Regions from separate parts of the Homo sapiens genome. Here region 1 is linked to region 2. Evidence: promoter capture Hi-C in human tissues and cell types (Jung and others, 2019). All regions are on one chromosome and are shown on one strand. The core of a region is centred on a gene start or on the middle of the fragment in contact, and the rest is flanking DNA. Distances in the headings are between cores, read along the strand shown.

What was found. The method cuts DNA at HindIII sites, captures the fragments that hold promoters and counts their contacts. A contact is called where the count stands out against the background at its distance.
Region 1: a contact is called between a fragment that was not itself captured here and the fragment with the promoter of ZNF816 in region 2, in 1 of the 25 tissues and cell types used here (liver).

The regions. Positions count from the first base shown.
Region 1 is chr19:52,671,595-52,675,081 of GRCh38, reverse strand. The region is part of intron 1 of LOC122539214 (Zinc finger protein LOC122539214); the gene reads left to right. It also overlaps a transcript of ZNF83 not described here. Among named protein-coding and RNA genes, the nearest start is that of ZNF83, 35 kb to the right of the region's middle. RefSeq lists an enhancer at 573-1,072. The HindIII fragment of the contact is 8,097 bases long and covers 1-3,487 here.
Region 2 is chr19:52,960,856-52,964,324 of GRCh38, reverse strand. ZNF816 (zinc finger protein 816) reads left to right here and starts at 1,444. Exons shown (of 4, transcript NM_001202457.3): 1 at 1,444-1,598. It overlaps ZNF816-ZNF321P (ZNF816-ZNF321P readthrough), which reads left to right and starts at 1,444. Exons shown (of 4, transcript NM_001202473.2): 1 at 1,444-1,608. RefSeq lists a silencer at 1,217-1,416 and an enhancer at 1,477-1,726. The HindIII fragment of the contact is 7,894 bases long and covers 1-3,469 here.

The DNA.
Region 1 (3,487 bases), core at 659-3,158, 290 kb after region 2:
GATTAGATGCCCCTTTTCCTGTGTCACTCATTTCACTGTCTTGTCAGAAATAGCTTAGAGTAGCTGGCCGTGGTGGCTCATGCCTGTAATCCCAGCACTTTGGGAGCCCAAGGTGGGTAGATCACTTGATGTCAGAAGTTTTAGACCAGCCTGGCCAACAGAGGTTAGCCACTTTTCCCAGCCGGTTTTTTGTTTCTTTGACAAAAACTGATAGGGATTTGTATGGGCGTTGTGTTAAATCTAAATCATCTTGGGTTGTATAATCATTTAACGAGATTAAGTTTTCCAATCTATCAATATTGGTTGTATCTCTATGTTTTTAATCATTTTGATCAATGTTCATAGATTTCAAGGTAGAAACTTCTCGCATTTTTACGTTTATTCCTAAGTATATCTTAGTTTAAATTCTCTAGAAAATGGAAGTGTTTTCTTAATTTCCTTTTAAAATTTTTTACTGTTATTGCATGGAAATTCAACTAATTTTGGTGCTAATATTGTACTCTGCAAATCCACTGAATGTTTATTAGTTCCACTTGTATTTTGGTTGAGTCTTTGTGACTTTCTACACAGAGGATCGTGTCATCTACAAACAAATAAAATTTTATTTATTTCTTTCTGATTTGGATGAGTTTGATTTCTTTTGCTATTTCATTGCTCTGGCTAGGACAGTCAGTATTGATTGAATAGAAAGGGTGAGAACGTTCTAGCATCATGTGAGATCCTACAGGAAAAGCATTCAATTTTTCCTGATTGGTTATTTCAGCTGTGGTCATTTCATGGATGGTCTTTTATATTGTTGAGGTAAATTTCCTTCTTTATTTTGTTTAGGGTTTCTATGATGACAGGATGGTCCTAAGTCTTCACACATCAGGGCCACAGCCCCAACCTCACAGGAAACAGGTGATCTTTTGAAAGGCTTAAGGCCCAAGAGTTCATTTGAGGGCTTTTTAACCTGTGGATTTGGTCTAGAGCCATATCAGAGGGTTGTGTCTGTGTGAGTGTGCAAATGTGTGGTGCTTTCCAAGTTCAGTTGACATTGGTAATTTTTTTTTTTTTTTTTTTTTTTGAGATGGAGTCTCACTCTGTTACCCAGGCTGCAGGGCAGTGGCATGATCTCGACTCACTGCGGCCTCCACCTCTCAGCTTCAACCAATTCTCCTGCCTCAGCCTCCCTAGTAGCTGGGATTACAGGCACACACCACCAGGCCCGGTTAATTTTTTGTATTTTTAGTAGAGATAGGGTTGCACCATGTTGACCAGGCTGGTCTCGAACTTTTGACCTGAGGTGATTGGCCCACCTCAGCCTCCCAAAGAGCCACTGCTCCTGGCCTAATAATTTTTTATTTATTTATTTTTTTGAGTTGGAGTCTCACTCTGTCACCCAGGCTAGAGTGCAGTTGCATGATCTCTGTCTCCAGAAAAAACAAAAAACAAAAAGATAATATTTGCATCGTTATTGGCTCATTTTTGATTACTTGGGAAAACAGCTTTCAAAAGCTTAAGGTTTTTAAATACATGTGACTTTCTATATTTTTTTTCTGATGTTCTGTTTATAGCATTTTGTGTGTGTGTGTGTGTGTGATGGAGTTACACTCTTCTTGTGTACCCTGGAGTGTAGTGGTGCGATCTCAGCTCACTGCAACCTCTGCCTTCTTGGCTCAAATGATTCTCCTGCCACAGCCTCCTGAATATCTGAGATTACAGGCATGCGCCATCACCCTCGGCTAATTTTGTATTTTTTTAGAGACAGGGTTATACCATGTTGGTCAGGCTGGTCTCGAACTCTTGACCTCAGGGGATCCACCCATCTTGGCTCCCAAAGTGCTGGGATTCAAGCATGAGCCACTGTGCCCAGCCATTTGTTTAGTTTTTTGAGATGGAGTCCAGCTCTTTCGCACAGTCTGGAATGCAGTGGTGCAATCTCCACTCACTGCAACCTCTGCTCCCTGGGTTTAAGTGATTCTCATGCCTCAGTCTCCTGAGTAGCTGGGATTACAGGCTCACATCCAGTTTTTTTTGTATTTTTGGTAGAGACAGGGCTTATAGGTTTGAGCCACCACACCTGGCCATCCCCATTTTTATATGTACAATTTAATCATTGACTACAGTCATTCTGTTGTGTTATGAAATAATAGGTCTTATTCTATTTTTTGTACCCATTATCATGTTCTATTTATTAATTATTTCTGATTAAAATAAACTTTTTTGCCATGCACGGTGGCTCATGTCTGTAATCCCAGCACTTTGGAAGGTCAGGATTTGGAGACCAGCCTGGCCAACACGGTGAAACCCCGTCTCTACTAAAAATACAAAAATTAACCCAGCATGATGGCGAGCACCAATAATCCCAGCTACCTGGGAGGCTGAGGCAAGAGAATCATTTGAACCCAGGAGGCAGATGTTGCAGTGAGCCGAGACCGTGCCATTGCACCCCAGCCTAGGCAACAAGAACCAAACTCAATCTCAAAAATAAATAAGTAACTTAATTAATTTTTAAAACATAAAGATGAGGTGCTATGTTGCCTAGGCTGGACTCCAACTGTTGGGCACTAGCCATCCTCCTGCCTCAGCCTCCCATCATGCTCGGATTACAGGCACAAGCCACCATGCCTGACGACATTATGCTTTTTTAAACTTGCTAATATTCTAGATATGCTAATTTCCCTTCTAAATGTAATCATATTTTAGCTAATTACTAGTGTTTGATAGATGAATTCTTCCATAGCTAGGGATGTGGGAGAAAAACATAGTTCATAGTACATGTTAACTTACAGATATAGTCATAAAAGTATTACATGCAGAAATGAGGTGATTTATAATTTCATTTTATTTTTATTTTTATTTTTTTGAGACAGAATCTCACTCTTTTGCTCAGGCTGGAGAGCTGTGGTGAGATCTTTGCTCACTGCAACCTCTGCCTCCTGGATTCAAGAGATTCTCCTGCCTCAATCTCCTGAGTAGCTGAGATTACAGTTTTGTGCCACCTTACCCAGCTAATTGTTGTATTTTTAGTACAGATGGGGTTTCACCATGTTAGCCAGGCTAGTCTCAATCTCCTGACCTCTGGGTCATCCACCTGCCTCGACCTCCCAAAGTGCTGGGATTACAGGTGTGAGTCAATGTGCCCAGCCAATTTTATAACTTAGTTATATTTTTTCAGGGCCCAAGTAAAACGGAATAACTTGACTGCAATGTATTCTTAGTAATATTTCATGATCTTTCTCTATATGAAAATAAATCCTAACATTTAAAGACTGCATATTTTATAGCCTTTGTTATTCCCACCTGATAGAACACTCAGGAGAGAATAACAAAGAAAACACCTAAAATAGATTGCAATTGGATGGGTGTGGTGGCTTGCCTGTAACCCCAACACTTTGGGAAGCAAAGGTGGGTTGATCGCTTGAGTCCAGGAGTTGAAGGCTAGCCTGAGCATCATAGTGGGACCACCCCTCTACAAAGTACTAACAAATTAGCCAGGCTTGGT
Region 2 (3,469 bases), core at 195-2,694:
TCCAGTCTGACTCTGGAATAACGTGACAAAGAAGAAAGTCAAAATATTTTACCCCAAAACATGTTTCTGTGCCATATTTTGAAATGGTCCTGCAAAGCTGTTCTTTGTGAGGGGTACATGTGCATTTGTAAAGAATCTCTGTTAACATAGCTAGATCTTTTTCTTCTAGGCCCTACCAATCCTGAAGAGATTAAGTAAGAATCTCGCACTGTTTAAAGGTCTGAATAGAAAACACTTATCATCTATTATCTCTAAGGGCAGCCAATAGAAGACTTGAAAACAACATTGGTCTCCACAATCTTTTACCTTAACGTGAACATTTCCTCTCCGTTGATCCCAGGTATTTAGACAAACTCAACCAATTGTCAATCAGAAAATGTTTCAATTTACCTGTAGCCCAGAAGTCCCCGCTTTGAGTTGCCCCTCCTTTCTGAACCAAAGCAGCGTATTTCTTAAATGTATTTGATTGATGTCTAATGCCTCCCTAAAATGTCTAAGAACAAGCTGTTCCCCATCACCTTGGACACATGTTCTCAGGACCTCCTGAGGGTCATTCATATTTAGCTTAGAATAAATCTCTTAAGATATTTTACAGTTTGATTCTTTTCCACGACAAAAATAACTCATTTTAAGTGCAGCATGAAATAATAAACGTAAGAAACAACTGGGCAACTTATATGCACTGTTACAATGTCAGTGCTTTTTTTAAATCACTTTTTTGTTTATTGAGACGGAGGAGGGAGCTCTGGGATAGAGGGTCTTACTTTGTCGCCCAGGCTGGCCTGGAACTCCAGGCTCAGCGATCCTCTCGCCCCTGCTTCCTGAGTAGCGGGGACCCCAGACTCCTGCCACCCCGCCCGCATCCCTGCTGTGTTTAAGCACACTCCTCTGCTCCGCACCCCAGACGGTGGCCCTAGGGAAGTCTCAGGAGCTGAGCACAGTGTGGACTCTCCCACTCCAGTGAATGGAGAATTGAAAGGGAGAGGATTTCTATTCTGTTCTGTGGACCGTCAGCATGAAATTGTACCTTTCGCTCAGGCAAGGCTTTGCATTTCGCATTCTAGTTTGCATTCCTGCCGTAGACAACTTCCAGGCTTTGGAATTAAATTGCTAAAATAAATTTCAATAGCAAGGAACTTTCCCGGATCCAATTACCGCCACACGGCGACTTCTCAGGGAGGTACTATTTCCCTGACTGCTGAGCTGCTCCAGCCTCACTGGCGGGTTTCACCTCTAAAACCTTGAAAACAGAGGCGCGGAGAGCGAGATGGAGAAAAGCTCAGGCCCCGCCCCTTTCCCGCCCCCGCGGACTCCTCCCAGCCCAAGACTCTTCTCTTCCGCGCCGGGCCCCTTGTCCTTTGCACCCCGCCCCGGCCTCGCCCAGGCCCCGCCCACCTCTCGGGGATCTGGCCCAGGTCCCGCTTCTGTCCTGCGCCGATTGGCACAGACCCGGAAGCGGATGGCGTGGACTGAAAGTTGCACGGCGGCGTGTGCGTTTCCTAGTTGTCTGGTGCTGCTATATAGGGGACGTGGGGTCCCCACAGACCTGCAGGTTCCGGCCCCTCTTTTCTCAACCCAGAGCAAATTGAAACGTCCGGGTGAGAGTCCGTGAGTCGCTTCCTTTTGAGTTTAAAGTTGCCCTGAGGCTGGTCCCGTCCCCGGTCTTTCTGCAGTGGGGCCGTGCAGACACCTCCTGTCGCGAAACTTTCCTTAGCAAAACCCTTTCTGACGCGTCCTCCCGCCTCGCGCTGTTTCAAGTCCTCACCCGGAGCTGGATTCTTGCCCTGGGCAAGAGCGCTTCCCAGCCTCGCTCTAGTCGGCCCCTGGAGCGCAGCGTTGCAGCCCCGCAGCCCCAGGGTGGCCGGTGCTTTGTGGCCACTCCTGGGCTCTTTCCCTTTCCATCTGAGACGTGGTGGAAGTGGGAGGGCTACAGGGAGAGTACCCTTTGATCCTTTGTTACTACGGGTGGGGAGATGGGGTTATTCCTTTTGGTCTAGTTTTGCAAAGTTCACATTAATTGGCCTTAGATTCCCAGAGCCAGGACCCAGATTTTCACTTTTCTTCTTTGTTGTTGGAGATGGGTCTCTGTGCCTACAGACTAGTATAGCCTGTGCCTGGACTAGTATAGTATAGTATAGTCTCTGTGCCTGGACTAGTATAGTCCAGCGGGGGCCGTCCAGTCTCAATGAAATTCTGGATGAGCCTAGGCAGTCTGTAATTTAGAAAATTTACGTAATGAGTTCTTTTCAGTGTGGTTTAAGCCTCACCAAGTGACTGTCCTTGTTGTGCTGTTGTATACAACTTCTGTCCTAGACAATTGAGCTTTCTTACGGGGTTGCTGAAGTTTTTTCTTTCCTTAGCTACATAGTATTGTCTAATAACTGAGGTTTTTAGGACCTAGAAGTTGCTAGTTTGGGCCTTCTGAGCTGGAATTGTGTGAGGAACTGGATCAGTGGGCACCAACTCTCGGGCTTCCTGAGGCCATCGGTCTCCAACAGTAGTTCCTCCGCGTACATAACAAGAAGCAACATTGAGGGAATGAGCTACATTTTCCGTTAACTGGAGAAACAAGTTCCTTGTCTTTTTTGGAAGCTCTGGTGCTGGCAGATTTAGCTCATTATAAAAGGCTTGAAACACTGGTTTGGGAAAGGGCCTGGGGACCTCCCCTCGGACTAAAATGGCAACTTGGGGGGTTACCCTTGTCCTATTGACCGTCAGGATTACACCTTCTCTTTTTCTCTAACGGGGGTCTAGGGAATTAGTGATTATTAGTTCTAGTGGGTTACAGTGACTGCTAGCACAGGAGGGGTTGGCTTCTTTTTTTTGAAAGTGAACCGGGTCTTTTTTGTCATTTTTCTAAGTAGCCTAAATAACACATGGGCAACAGGCAAATTTTCACAGACCTCTGCCTCATGACAAACATTTATTTTCTACTGTGCAGCTCCTTTCTTAGTTAAGAGAGCCACATCTTAATCTGAGCTTGTTACTATTAATGGCTGCACAAGCATCAAATTTAAAGTTTCTTGTTTGGGGATTCTTTTTTCTTCTGTTCTAGTTATTATTTTACTTGTGTCACCTAGGAAAGGACCAGTTCTTAATCTTATTTGAAAAACGGTGGTTGCAGGAGGCTTAGATGGGTTATAACCCATAGTAGGTTTGTCATTTCCTGGGCTACGTACCTTGTATTGAGTGGAATTATACAAATAAGATCCTTTTAACGTGCCTGTACATTCATAATAACTATAGAACAGAAAGATTGTTTTAATTTGCTGTCCTATCTCAGTGACCTGATGAATACACTGGGAACAGTCCTTAGTTTGAGGAAGGTCAGTTGAAGCCTTTACTGTACAAGTCTAAAATTTAAGAAGAATGAGTCCCACGATGAGCTTCCTCATGCTTCCACTGTGCGTAGGACCAGTCAGCTTCCGGGTGTGACTGGAGCAGGGCTTGTCGTCTTCTTCAGGGTCAC